Regions from separate parts of the Homo sapiens genome. Here regions 1, 3, 4 and 5 are each linked to region 2. The links are contacts of gene promoters, found by promoter capture Hi-C in human tissues and cell types (Jung and others, 2019). All regions are on one chromosome and are shown on one strand. Each heading gives the region's core, a stretch centred on a gene start or on the middle of the fragment in contact. The rest is flanking DNA. Distances are from core to core; before and after follow the strand shown.

Evidence for each region. Contacts are between HindIII fragments. The study calls those that stand out against the background at their distance.
Region 1: a contact is called between a fragment that was not itself captured here and the fragment with the promoter of SMOC2 in region 2, in 1 of the 25 tissues and cell types used here (H1 embryonic stem cells).
Region 3: a fragment that was not itself captured here is called in contact with the fragment with the promoter of SMOC2 in region 2 in 3 of the 25 tissues and cell types used here (bladder, dorsolateral prefrontal cortex and mesendoderm cells).
Region 4: a fragment that was not itself captured here is called in contact with the fragment with the promoter of SMOC2 in region 2 in 2 of the 25 tissues and cell types used here (H1 embryonic stem cells and dorsolateral prefrontal cortex).
Region 5: a contact is called between a fragment that was not itself captured here and the fragment with the promoter of SMOC2 in region 2, in 3 of the 25 tissues and cell types used here (H1 embryonic stem cells, aorta and heart right ventricle).

Annotation. Positions count from the first base shown.
Region 1 is chr6:168,167,243-168,169,942 of GRCh38, reverse strand. No RefSeq gene overlaps it. Among named protein-coding and RNA genes, the nearest start is that of FRMD1, 89 kb to the right of the region's middle. RefSeq lists an enhancer at 455-1,654. The HindIII fragment of the contact is 3,232 bases long and covers 1-2,700 here.
Region 2 is chr6:168,439,898-168,442,597 of GRCh38, reverse strand. It overlaps SMOC2 (SPARC related modular calcium binding 2), which reads right to left and starts at 1,414. Exons shown (of 13, transcript NM_001166412.2): 1 at 1,144-1,414. The coding sequence starts at 1,227. The HindIII fragment of the contact is 15,076 bases long and covers 1-2,700 here.
Region 3 is chr6:168,789,315-168,792,014 of GRCh38, reverse strand. No RefSeq gene overlaps it. Among named protein-coding and RNA genes, the nearest start is that of SMOC2, 350 kb to the right of the region's middle. The HindIII fragment of the contact is 7,957 bases long and covers 1-2,700 here.
Region 4 is chr6:168,861,383-168,864,082 of GRCh38, reverse strand. LOC105378144 (a long non-coding RNA gene) reads right to left here. Exons shown (of 2, transcript XR_943297.2): 2 at 1,617-2,700. Among named protein-coding and RNA genes, the nearest start is that of LINC01615, 300 kb to the left of the region's middle. The HindIII fragment of the contact is 6,663 bases long and covers 1-2,700 here.
Region 5 is chr6:168,807,112-168,809,811 of GRCh38, reverse strand. No RefSeq gene overlaps it. Among named protein-coding and RNA genes, the nearest start is that of LINC01615, 350 kb to the left of the region's middle. The HindIII fragment of the contact is 4,095 bases long and covers 1-2,700 here.

The DNA of each region.
Region 1 (2,700 bases), core at 159-2,658, 270 kb after region 2:
GCTCCGGACTGTCACATCAGAGAAGCCCAAGAGTAAACCCTGTCCAAAGAAGGAGGGACCAGGGTGGCCTGGGCCTCCCTTGCTACACCCCAGGGATTCTGCAGAAAAATCGCAGGCCATAAACACCCCCAAAACATGCGAGAATCACCAACACGCCATTCAACCCACGTGGAAAATCACCAACACGCCACTCAACCCACGTGGAAAATCACCAACACGCCACTCAACCCTCGTGGAAAATCACCAACACACCACTCATCCCACGTGGAATTCATTTTCCTGAGACAGAGTGGTTCATGGGGACAGAGGACACACACTGGCCCTGCCGAAGCTTTATTTTTAAGTCAGTGAATCTTAACGTTCACCTGAAGAAAACTTTACATTTACTTCATTAAAGCAGTTAAGCTTTTCCAAAATGAGGATCTTTTTCTTAGCACACATTTCCTCCACCGAGGCGAATATTTTGTAAGTGCACCACACTCTGCCCTCCTGTTCTTCTTCCTCCCAGGCTGTAATGCAAACATCCAGCAATCTCACCTGCTCACATTCATTGCTCAGTGTTGAAATGTGATAAAGCAAAGTGTGATTGTAACCACAGGAGTAATGTGGACCGGTGTCCTGAGAGCCAAGCTACAAAAGGCTACATCGACCTGGGGTGTAGGGAACTTTGCATGGAGAAGCGACATCTGTGCCAGACTTGGCTCTGGGAAGTCTCTGCTGGAACACCTTGCTCTGTAATGGGCAATGCCCCACGTGGATTCAGTTTCCCATTTCAGTCCTTGTCCTGTGCCGTATGCCTCAGTGGGTGACACAGCCACGCCCTAGCAGTGCAGGCTAAAGCCTGAGCATCAGCCTTGATGAGCGACACAGAAAGTCCCCCGCTTAATGACTGTATTCAGGAAGTCCCCCGCTTAATGACTGTATTCAGGAAGTCCCCCGCTTAATGACTGTGTTCAGGAAGTCCCCCGCTTAATGACTGTATTCAGGAAGTCCCCCGCTTAATGACTGTATTCAGGAAGTCCCCCGCTTAATGACTGTATTCAGGAAGTCCCCCGCTTAATGACTATTCAGGAAGTCCCCCGCTTAATGACTGTATTCAGGAAGTCCCCCGCTTAATGACTGTATTCAGGAAGTCCCCCGCTTAATGACTGTATTCAGGAAGTCCCCCGCTTAATGACTGTGTTCAGGAAGTCCCCCGCTTAATGACTGTATTCAGGAAGTCCCCCGCTTAATGACTGTATTCAGGAAGTCCCCCGCTTAATGACTGTATTCAGGAAGTCCCCCGCTTAATGACTATTCAGGAAGTCCCCCGCTTAATGACTGTATTCAGGAAGTCCCCCGCTTAATGACTGTATTCAGGAAGTCCCTCGCTTAATGACTGTATTCAGCGCTTTCTATGAGCAACCCTTATACAAGCTTTGCAGATACAAAAGCTAAGAATATCGACAAAATCATCGTCTTTGTGGAGCTTACATTCTCTCACCCCCGTGACTCGTCAATCCCCAGGTCCTCTGGACTTCACTTCCTAGGCCTCCCTCAAATCTGCCCCCACTCTCCAGCTCCAGGGCCACGCTGCAGCCACCGCAGCAGCTCCCCAGGCCTCAAGGTCCCAGCTGAACCCTCTCAAATCCATTTCCCATGTTGTAGGAAGAGTAAACTTTCTGTACAGAGGCTTGTTCATGTCCCCCCAATGCCTTCTCAATGAAAATCAGCCCTTCAGTGAACCCCCCTGGGTCCCCTGAGGCTGGTCTCCTGCCTACAGCTCTGGTGGCACGTCCTGCCCCTGGCTGTCCCGCCCCTTGCTGCTGGCTGCTTCACTGGCCTCATCTCTGTTCCTCAGATGCTCTGTCCCTTCCCACCCCAGGATGACCCAGCCCAGCCCATCCTCCTGCACCCCCGCATAGCAACCTCCTATCCCTCACACACAGCCCCTGTCACCCCTGGAGGGAGGCTGCCCCTGTTACTCATCCTCTATGTACTGAGCTTTGACAATTTGTCTAGAATGTCTCCTCCCATTAGACTGCACAACCACAGCAGCCAGGACATCACCATTGCTTCCCTGGGGCTCAGCCTCGGGTTCCCTGGAAGAGCTCCATTAATATGTGGGTTATCGTTCTGTTCCTACAATTGTTGGACTGATCATCACCCCCCTCGTCGCTGCCTTTAGAAGCCATGCAAGAGAGAATGGATACGCTAATGTGACTCCATCTGGGACCTGAATGGCCCACCTGACAGGTGGAGGCTGGGTGGAATGTCCCTGGAAATGCTTTCTAACTCACTTCCAGAGCACTCACCCCAGCACACTCACCTCCCCTGCACCTGCCCCCAGCGCACCGCATGTATCTCATCCTGATTCTGATTCCCGCTGGCTCGGCTACTCTATGACCCTCTGTCCTGGGATATCCTAGCTGAGTTTAAGGAGAAAGGTCTCTGTGAGGTGGCCTCTCCCTTCCTCTCCACAAGGCTGGACAATTCATTTGGCTGTTTTATTAAAATGGTGATATGGTTTGGCTCTGTGTCCCCACACAAATCTCATCTTGAATTGTAATCACCATGTGTCAAGGGAGGGGCCTGGGGGTGGTGATTGGATCATGTGGGCGGTTTTTCCCTTTCTTTTCTCATGATAGTGAGGGAGTTCTCATGAGATCTGGTTGTTTCATAAGTGTCTGGCATTTCCCCTGCACACTCTCTCTCCTGCCA
Region 2 (2,700 bases), core at 165-2,664:
CCACTTAAAAAAGACGGCTGTCCACCAGAGGCGTTCTCACTACCTTCGTGTTTTCTCAAACACTTGTTCAAAAACACATTTAAGTGGAATGTTTTCGTTTCTGGCGATTGCATTAATGATGGGTTTGCAAACCCTGCAAGCCCAGGAGGACGGCTGGAGCTGGGGGCTGCAGACACCCGGCCTTGGCCCAGCGGCCGCCGCGGGTTGGCTTGGCCGGCGGGGGCTTGGCTCAGCCCCCTCTACATAGCTCCTCGTTTGACACCGCGTGCGTTGGCCGGGCCAAGGCTGTCGCATAGAAGTTACAGCTCAGAAAGAAAAACACACAGCGGTCAACCGCGGTGACCCTCGCGCTCAGGAGCGCAGCATCCCTGCCACGAGGAAGAACCCAGAGGCCCCGCAGAGCGGGGAGCCGCCGCCTGCCTCCAGTTCTGTCCTGAGAAGGGAAGAAAGCGCTTCTCTAATAACACTCAGGCCCGTGAAGAATCATCTGTAACCTCATCTGCTTCTTCCTCGGCTCACTTACGAGGGTCTCTGGGAGAGTCAGACCCACGAGTGGGGCCCACGACTGGCAGCCCCTTCAGCCGGCGAGAGGCCCGGGATCCGCGCGGCGCACGAGCCCAAAGCGGTCGGGAGAACACGCTCCAGGCCGGGTCCCCGTGGGCGAGGTGGGCGCCCAGTCCCGGCGGGTCTGTCTTGGCCTTGGGACAGTCCGCGGGGCGGCGCCGGCGCTCCCAGACCTGGTTCCCCACAGGCTCAGGCCCAGCAGTGAGTGCGGGACACCCGAGCGCACCCGCAGCTCCCACTTGTCCGGGGTCTGCAGGACCCCAGGATCCTCTCACAGCCGGGTCAGAGCCCCCGAGGCAGGTGGGGTCCCAGCCGGGTGGAACCCGAGGAGCCCGTCGCAGCCGCAGCAGGACCCCGGCGGGCAGGGTCCCCAGAAGCCCATCCCAGCCGGGTCCCAGGCGCGCACGCTGCGTCCTACCTGCTCCAGCCTCGCCGGCAGGCGAAGGCTCCACGGCCCCCGGGGCCACCTGCTCCCCGTGCCCAGGCGCCTGGGCCTGGAGCGGGGCGCGGGGACCCGAACCCGGCCGGCTGCAAGAGGCGGCACCACTTGAGCTCCAGGTCCCGCGGGCCCGGGCTTACCGTGAGCGCCGAGAACTTCTGAGCGGGCACCGGCGGGAGCAGCCCAGCGAGCAGCGGCAGCCAGCAGAGCTGGGGGAGCAGCATGGTGGCGGAGGTGGCGGGAGCGGGAGATCGGCCGCGTCCTGCGCCCTGGCACTGCAGCCGGGAGAGCCCAGTGGGCGAGCGCGGCTGGGCGGGCGCGTGGAGGGGCGGCTCCGCGATGCTCTCCCCACCGCTCCCGGCGGCCCGGCTGGAGCAGCTCCCCTGCAGGCACCCAGAGGTCCTCCGCGTTCTTTGCGTCCGCCCTCGCTCCTGTCAAATACCCCGGAGCTTCCCGGATCCTCCCCTCCCGCCCGCCTCTCTCCCTCCCCCTCTCCTCCCCCAGCCCCACCTCCCAGCGCCCGCTGCCGCGCCCGCTCCGCTCCGGTGCCCGCTGCGGCCCAGAGGCCTCCCTGGCGCGGGTCTGCGGAGCGAGAGGTGGAGCGGGGGCCACCAGGGCTGCGCAGTGGCCTGTCCGGGCTGTCTCTGTGCCTCCTTCCCCGCGCGCACTCTCACACACACACGTGCACACTTACACACACGCACACCCAGGCACACGCACGCACTCATACCCACGCGCGCGCACCCTCGGGGGGCTTCCAAGCACAACCACGGGACGCACCGCGCCCTCCTCACGCCCCAGGGTCCAGGCCCGGTCCGCGCAGGATCAGCCCAGCGGGACTTTTCATCCACAAAGGTTAACGCCAAGCCTTGGCCGGTCCCCAGACTCCGGGGTTCTCCTTGACCTCTGCCCTCTAAGGCCCCCTGGTCCAGCCCAGAACATTGCCTCTCAGAGGTGCTGAAGGATCAGCGGCGCTCCAGCAAAGGCAGCTGGGAACACATGTCCAGGAAAGGCTGCGCCGGGGGCAGCCCGCCTTTGGCATCTTTACACGGGGTTATCCACTGCAGGGATGGGGGAATTTAGGTCCTAAAGATCCGGGGTCTGACCTGGGCTGTAGCCTTGATCCTCTCAAGTCGGGGGAGCATGTGGTTGGGCATCATTCACAGACACATGTGGCTGTTTTTAAACAGCTCTGTCAAAGCATTTCAGGTGTTTGTGCGGGGAGCACAGGGCTTGTGGAGGTTGTAAACTCACCCACGAAGACTACGTTGGAAACCAGGAAATTTTTGCACACCCAGACTCTGGATAATATCCACTGCAGACAACATTGCTGACATAGTTTAGCCTTGGCTTATAACTTTACAGGAAAAAGCCCTAATTCTGTCTCACACAGAAAGCCAGAAGAGTGAAGATTTGTTCAAGAACAATGAATCAATTGACTTGTCAGGGGCATTGGGAAAAGCACAAAACACAGAAAATCCAAATCTGAGGTTTCATCCGATGTCTAGCCCACTGCTTTGGCTATGAACTTTGGGGGAGGGGGCTGTATCAGCAAGTTCTGGGACTGGCTGCTGAGGCAAAGGCAATGCTATTGCAACCTTTCCCACACAATTTTATCAGGAAAGTGATGTCCGTCGGGCCACGGAAAGACGGGAAAGAAATGCACCTTTTCCTGAAGGAGGGCTACTCTCAGAATT
Region 3 (2,700 bases), core at 159-2,658, 350 kb before region 2:
GTTCATACAACAGCATACTATGCTAAGTACCTACCTGGGGTGTTAATATGGAATATGGCACATAAGTGTACTCTCATAAAGTTAATGTTATATTGCTATTTAGTTGGTATATTAAACATAATTTTCTTTCACAAATTCCACGTGGCAAATCTCTTTATTTGGTGCCATCGTGCCTCTTAGTCCAACTCCTGTCCTTGACTCAATGGTGAACAACCACATTTTACTATTTTGACCAATAATTGCAATACAAAATCTTTATTTTATTGTCAGAAAAGTAAAAGTTTTGGCGTATCTTTGCACAATTGTACTTCTTAAAAGCTTTGTAAATGTGTACAAAGGACACTGTCTCCAGTGAACTGGCCACAAGAAATATCCATCAGAATAATGAGAACATGGTTTAGAATTCTCCCTAAAATACACCAAATATCACTTTTCAGAATGTTTGTACAGTATACTTTGAACAAATATCTTAGTGAATAGAAAATATAATAAAAGATCAGTATTCATAATACAGTAATAGTGAATTTTGTGTAAACCCAATGTCATAATTTTTTGAATGTGTGCTTACTGATACATTGCACAGATTTTAATGCTATAAAGGTGTAGATTTAATCCTCACCTGTGCCTGGAGGCCCTTCATTTTTCTGCAACACACACACACACACACATTCCTTCTCTGGATCCTTCTAGAAGGACCAAAGAGTGGCCCTGAGAGGGTTTACTGATAGGTCTGCCATGCTCTCTCGCTCCAGCCTCTGTTCCTTCCCAGACGTCCCACTGCTGTGTTGGCGGACGGTGCCAGATGCAGGAGAGTGCCCGGGCTGCCAGGCATGTTGTGGGCTCACCTTGCCTTGGTGACAGTGGCCCTGCGAACTCACCCTGACCATCATGAGGCTCCAGCTGGGGAATGTGTCCTCCCTGCAGCCCCACGCTGCCTCGTCACCAGTCCCCCAAAGTGGCTGCCAGTGCCCAGTCCTACTGCTTCTCTCCCGGAAGCAGTAATTCCTTGATAATTTCCGCTTAAACATGGCGTTCTCGTCCGTTCTCACACTGCTGTGAAGAAACACCTGAGGCTGGGTGATTTATAAAGAAATCAGGTTTAATTGGCTCACAGTTCCGCAGGCTGTACAGGAAGCATGGCGCTGGCCTATGCTCAGCTTCTGTGAGGCCTCAGGAAACTCTCAATCATGGTGGAAGGTGAAGGCGGAGCAGGTGTGTCTTACGTGGCAAAAGAAGGAGCAAGAAAAAGGTAGAGGAGGGGTGGGGGAGGTGCCACACACTTTTAAACAACCAGATCAGAATGATAACTCACTCACTCACCATCACGAGAACAGCACCAAGGCAGATGTTGCCGCCCCTTCGTGAGAACTTCTCCCCTTCTGCCTTCCTCTTTATAAAGATTCTAGTGGTCACTTCCCATCGCCCCCACCTCCAGCACTGGGTATTACAGATTGACATGAGATGGTGCTACCCTTTCATGAGAACTTCTCCCCAGGGTCCAGTCACCTCCCACCGGCCCCCACCTCCAGCACTGGGCATTACAGTTCAACATGAGATTGGGTGGGGACACAGATCCAAACCATATCACATGCTAAACTGAATACCCATATCTACCCATTCTTGCAGTATACACTAAAATCACAGTGACAGATAAACAAAAAGTCACTAATCTATAAGAACGAAGAGAAGACACAGAGTTGAAGAGGGCCCTGAGGCTCTCCTCTGCCCCTGGACTCAGGAAGGCTGAGGCCCCTCCTTGGAAGATGCACCCCTCAGTTTCCACACACACCCTCACCAGGCTCCTTACTTCTGGTTTGAGCACCCTGGGTTCTTGCCGTGGCAGGACCCATTTTTAGTATCAATTTCTGCATCAGTCAGGAAAATATGGGACAGGCTATGGTTGCAAAAAGCCCTGGAAATCATAGTGGCTCGAGGCAGTGAACGCGATTCCTCCTGGATGCCGTGTCATCGGGGCTGCTGCGGCCTCTGTCCTATGTCCCTGCACTCCAGGACTCGGCTGATGACAGTCCCACCTCAAATGTGGCCACAGGCTGCAAGCAAGGGCAGTGGCTCTTTCTCAGGAGCACTGTGTGGCAATTAAATGCCTCCATCTGGCGTTTGCAAGCTCCTCCTTTGCCCCTCGTGCAAGGGGCCATGTGGGAGGCTCAAGGCTGGAAATCTGGCAAAAAGTGGGAGGAGATCCTAGAGACCAACTTCAACAAACTATCAGGAGTCAGTTGGTGACAGATGGGAAAGTGAGAGAGTTACCTGAGAGGGGTAAGCTATGCGCTCAGAGGAGGAACAGCAATGAGAAGCTCACTAACTTAACCACAGCGTCTCTGGGAGGCTTGGAGCTTTTGCCACAGAAAAGAGAGGGTGTGTAAGGAGCAGGGTGGAGAAAGATTGCAGCGTAATTGCAGGGAGCATCAGCTGCCCCCGTGGCTCACCTTCACAGCTGAAACAGCCCCGCATGCACTTGTCACACCAGGCAGAAGGAGTGTGCATCCATCTCCCAGCGCTGCCTCACAAATCTCCACATGCGCCATGTCTGGAAGTCAGAAGTCCAGGTGAGTCTGGGGGACCACCATCAAGGTGTGGGCAGGGCTGCTTCCTCCTGGAGCTCCAGGACAGGGTCTCTTTCCCACCTTTCCAGCCAGCGGAGACTGCCGCGTTCCTCAGCTCCTGGCCCCTTCCTCCATC
Region 4 (2,700 bases), core at 197-2,696, 420 kb before region 2:
GGGAGGTATTGAGCAATTCTGATTACAAATACAAAGATTGCACATGTACAAGTTATGTACAAGTTCAACACCTAAACAGCCCACTGGGGTTCACCAACCACAGCGCCCAGGGAGGCACAGGACCTGGAGTGGGGACTGGGAATTGTGGTCTCTGAAACACACACAGGCATTACACACTCCGCCATACGTGCAGGCCTGGGGTTCAGCTCACAGGCTTGATGGAGTGGGTGTTTTTAAACCCCTTAGCAATTCCAAAGTAAGTGTTATTTTACTTTATAGAATCCTGGGTTCTGGAACAATTCATTTTCCCTAATGATGAATGGACTGATTCATTTCTGCATTTGTTAATATCTAAAGTGATTTCTTTTTCTAGATAACGTTCCCTAAAACCTCCCAAAGATCACGTGACTAAGGCCAAGTAAAACTACAGCGAAGAGGTGGAGAGACATCTGAATTAAGATCCCTTCAGAGAATCAATGCAAATTAAAAGTTAGCAAATCACCCAAAGAGAGAGCGGCCTGTGGGGAAATCTAACAGTGTTCTTTACATTTCAGATCCCATTTTTGATCCAAGCTAAAATACAAGTCACCCCAAATTAATTGCAGCAAACATATTGTGGTGGCAAATTAAGTCTTCTTAGTCATTTATATCTTGGAGATATTCTGCACACGGGCCGACACACGAAGAAGCGTTTCGTGTCCCTCCTGGCCTTGGTGATTTCTTTTCAGAAAAGCACCGGGGGGCCAATCAACTGTCAAATTACGTTTCCCTGTGCTGGGCTTATCCAAGAGCAATCTCCTGTTGACTTTATTGCACATTTTATAATTGTATAATTTCACAAGTCTTCCATGGATATCGTCATTACAATAATTTAGGGCTATGGAAACTCAGGGATCACAGGCAGTTCCTCCCATGGGTCACCACGGTTACTTAAGACCATGACCGACCTGCCAGCCCTGGTCATTCAGACTTGGGAACTAGAACTGGCAGACATTTCTCAAAAATGAGGGAGTCTGTCATTTCAAGGATGACGGCTGACAGTTTTTGTTGCCTATGATAAAAATTCAAGCATCACTATGAAAGTGACAATCCCAAAGACCTTGTGTCTCCCTCTGTGAGCCTGTCACTGGCTTAAAGGGTGTTTTGAGGACATCTGTGGGGAGGTCAACAGAAATGCTTTTTATATTGTGTAGTGAGAAGTGTCAACATTTGGAAGATCTGCAGAACTCAGTGAGCTGATTGTTTCCACTGCGGGATGGTATAAAGTGACGAGCAAGCGAAGACCATCTGCGGTGCCACGGGCCCATGGATGCCGACACAGGGGCAGGTGCATGCCCAGGCAATAGGGCTCAGATCCCACACAACAGCGCACCTTTAAGAAGCTACCACCTTTGGGGCTTGGGGGTGGTATCAAAGAATCACCACAATTACCTAGGAAAGGTTATTAAAATAATCTCCTCTTTCCTAATACATTTGGGAGTGACACTGAGTATTCACTGCACACTTCAAACCCACACAGATGGAGTGCGGGAGTGGCCTCAGACTCTGGCTGCCTTCCGGGAAGTCAGACACTGGATTTGCAATAGAAAGTATAGCACTCTTGTCAGTCAAGATGGTTTGGTTCAAAAATTACATTTATTTTTCATTACACGTTATTTATGTTGGCATGTAATGGATTTACTATTGTGCTTTTAATTAAAGAATAAAAACATTTTAAGTTTTTTTAGTTTAATTTCTAGTAGGATAAATAACAATAGACAGAACCCACTTCATCAATCCGTCTAATTTTCCTGCCAGAGTAATAATGTATTCCTAACTTTGTTCATTTCTTGCTTTTAAAATGTAGACCTTGAAAAGACTAAATACATAGAAATGTAGACGTTGCCTGGAGTTTTTATTTTCAATATCAGGTTACATTTCATTTTGTATTTAAGTATACAAAATGAATATCAAATAATGCATTTTCAAGCAAATGTATAGATGAGTGAATTTTGTCTGGGGCCAGAGGGCTATGACGCAGAGCTCTGTAACTGACCACCTGCAGTGACCTCGCCTGCTCCTGGGCGGGCTTCAGTCTTGTGTGACCCTCACGCCCACGGTGAAAATCCCCGAAATGGGGTTCTATTTGCTGGAAGATTTCTTCTTTAATTGCATTATGTTATTTTTACATCTAGCTGCTCTTACCCTGAGAAATTGTTCATATTCTGTGTTCCATTTCAGTTTTTCATAAAGTAACCTAAAAAACTGACCACTTGGAAAATGAAACACATAGTTGTAAGATTAATAGATCCTTCTGCCCTCGAGTCCCCTCCCGAGGACCCAGTCAATCCTGAGCCCTGAATCACAAACAAACAAAAAGGGCGGTGTATCTTGTGCATTTTCTGTCTCCTTTTTCTCGCTTGTTTTCAATTTTTCTTTGGATTTGTTAGTGTATCAGAGGTTTATAAAAGCATGGGTGTGGACTCTGAAGGAATTTCACTTATCTTTCAAAAGATGTGAAAACAAATTCTATTTTCCTGGTACAGATTTGCTTCGAAGTACCTCTTTAACCTACCTTTCTTCACAGACAGCGCAAGGGAACATTAATGAATAAAACTTGCCTTTATATTTTTAACAATCTTTTCTAGGCAACATATTTTTGGAATTTATCAGTCCCCGTACGCCTAGAATACCTGACCCCTTTCTTCGGATGTGGTTGCG
Region 5 (2,700 bases), core at 188-2,687, 370 kb before region 2:
GGCTGGTGAAATAGATAGGTGGCACTGTCAGAGGCGTGTGAACCTGAGCAACTCCATCTTAAATAGGAGCTGGGTAAAACGAGGCTGAGACCTACTGGGCTGCATTCCCAGATGGTGAAGGCATTCTAAGTCACAGGATGAAATAAGAGGTCAGCACAAAATACAGACCACAAAGACCTTGCTGATAAAACAGGTTGCAGTAAAGGAGCCGGCCAAAACCCACCAAATCCAAAATGGCAACAAGAGTGACCTCTGGCTGTCCTCACTGCTACACTCCCACCAGCGCCATGACAGTTTACAAGTACCATGACAATGTCAGGAAGTTACCCTAATGGTTTAAAAAGAGGAGATAGGAATAATCCACCCCTTGTTTAGCATATCATCAAGAAATAGCCATAAAAATGGGCAACCAGCAGCTCTTGGGGCTGCTCTGTCTATGGAGTAGCCATTCTTTTATTCCTTTACTTTCTTCATAAACTTGCTTTATTATTATTATTATTATTATTATTATTATTATTATTATAATACTTTAAGTTCCAGGATACATGTGCAGAACGTGCAGGTTTGTTACATAGGTATACACGTGCCATGGTGGTTTGCTGACCCATCAACCCGTCATCTACATTAGGTATTTCTCCTAATGCTCTCCCTCCCCTAGCTCCCCACCCTGTGACAGGCCCCAGTGTGTGATGTTCCCCTCCTTGTGTCCATGTGTTCTCATTGTTCAACTCCCGTTTATGAGTGAGAACATGCGGTGTTTGGTTTTTTGTTCCTGTGTTAGTTTGCTGAGAATGATGGTTTCCAGCTTCATCCATGTCTCTGCAAAGGACATGAACTCATCCTTTTTTACTCTGCACTGTGGACTCACCCTGAATTCCTTCTTGTGTGAGATCCAAGAACCCTCTCCTGGGGTCTGGATCAGGACCCCAGAACTTTAATTTGGGGCTACATTCATTTTTCCTCCCTCCTTAGCCCATTTGTGGTAGTCAAAAGCTGGTAAAGAAATGTTACCAATTTCAATATTCCATTAAAAACAACATGCCCAGAACATAGTCAATATTTCACAGGAACTTGCAGCTCCCTGGGAAATCTCTATATTCAGTGTGGGGCTGTTACACTTGACTCTTAGCTCAGTTGGGGGTGTCTGGGGTTGAGAGGACAGAATGGAGAACCTAAAAGCATTACCAAAGCAATAGAAATAGACTTCAGTTGGGGCAAACTGAGAGCAGAAATTTAAACTGACCAGAAATTTAAAGGGAAATCCTGGATACGTATGAACATAGGAGAGCTGGGTGCCTGCAAGGCCGAGCATGTCTGCCAGACTGCGGGCACTCCTAGGACAGCTCTGGGGAGGAAGAAGGCAGGAGCCCCTCACCCCTGGCTGACCTCGAGGCCCTGTGCAAGCAGAAGGTAAAAGCAAAGGCTGTCTCATAAACTGCCTGACAATGGAAGGCAAAGCCTTCTCGCAGAGATGGCCCAAATGTACATGGAAGTCATGCCAGAAAACTGACCCATCGTTGATTGATCACTAAATTACACTGGCCTAGATATAAATCTTAGAAAGCCAAGCTTAAAAATGAAATGAAAAGCTTTAACAAAAGGCTGGGAGCTCAGTGTCCACATGCTGTAGGCACGGATGTCCAACCCTTTGAATATAAGGACTTGTTTGCTTATTTGCGGTGGTGGATATCATGAAAATCATGCACAAACCATTTTTTTTAAGCTCATCAGCTATGGCTAGTATTCGTGTATTTTATGTGTGGCTCAGGGAAGCCCAAAGGTTAGACACCCGTGGCAGGGGTTAGAGCTCTGCAAAAGTAGTCAGGCCAAGTCACTAAACAGACAACTAGCCACAAAGGAAATGAAAACAAATCTAACAACACAGCAAAACTCTGCAACAGCAAGAAACATTTGGGTGTGTGTAGAGAAATCTGATACTAGAATCGCCTCAATATATTATTATCTGAAATGTTCAGTTTTCAATAAAATTTACAAGATATGTAAATAAACAGGAGTATGCCACACACAGAGGATAAAAAGCAGCCAACAGAAAATGTTTCTAAATGCACCCAGATTTTAGACTAAATAGGCACAGGCTTTACAGCAGTTATTATAAATATGTACGAGCACCAAAAGAAACTCTGTCTAAAGAATTTTTAAAAGATTACAATGATATATTTCCAAAAAGAGAACATTAATAAATAGAAACTGTTTTAAAAGAATCAAATAGAAGTTCTGGAGTGAGTTGAAAACTGTGATAGGTGAAATAAAACATCCCTAGAGGGTCTTAACAACAGATCTGAGTCAGTAGAAGAAAAAACTGGAGAACTTGCATTTAAGTCAACACGTAGTATCTCATTTTAGGAGCAGAAAGAAGAAAAGAATGAAGGAAAAATAACAGACACTCAGACACCCGCAGAAAAACATGAATAGAATATACTTGACAGTCCAGAAATAAATCCTCGTATTTATGACGATTTTCAACAAGGGGGCCAAGAAAATTCAATGAGCAAAGAATTGTCTTTTCTAACAAATAGTGCTGGGAAAATTCGACTACTAATGTGAAAGAATGAAGGGATATCCCTACCTCATCATGCATCAAAAAGTAGCCAAGAATGGATAATAGACCTAAATGTAAGCACTGAAGCTGGAAAAACTCACAGGAGAAAACACATGGGTAAACCTTCATAATCTGGAGTT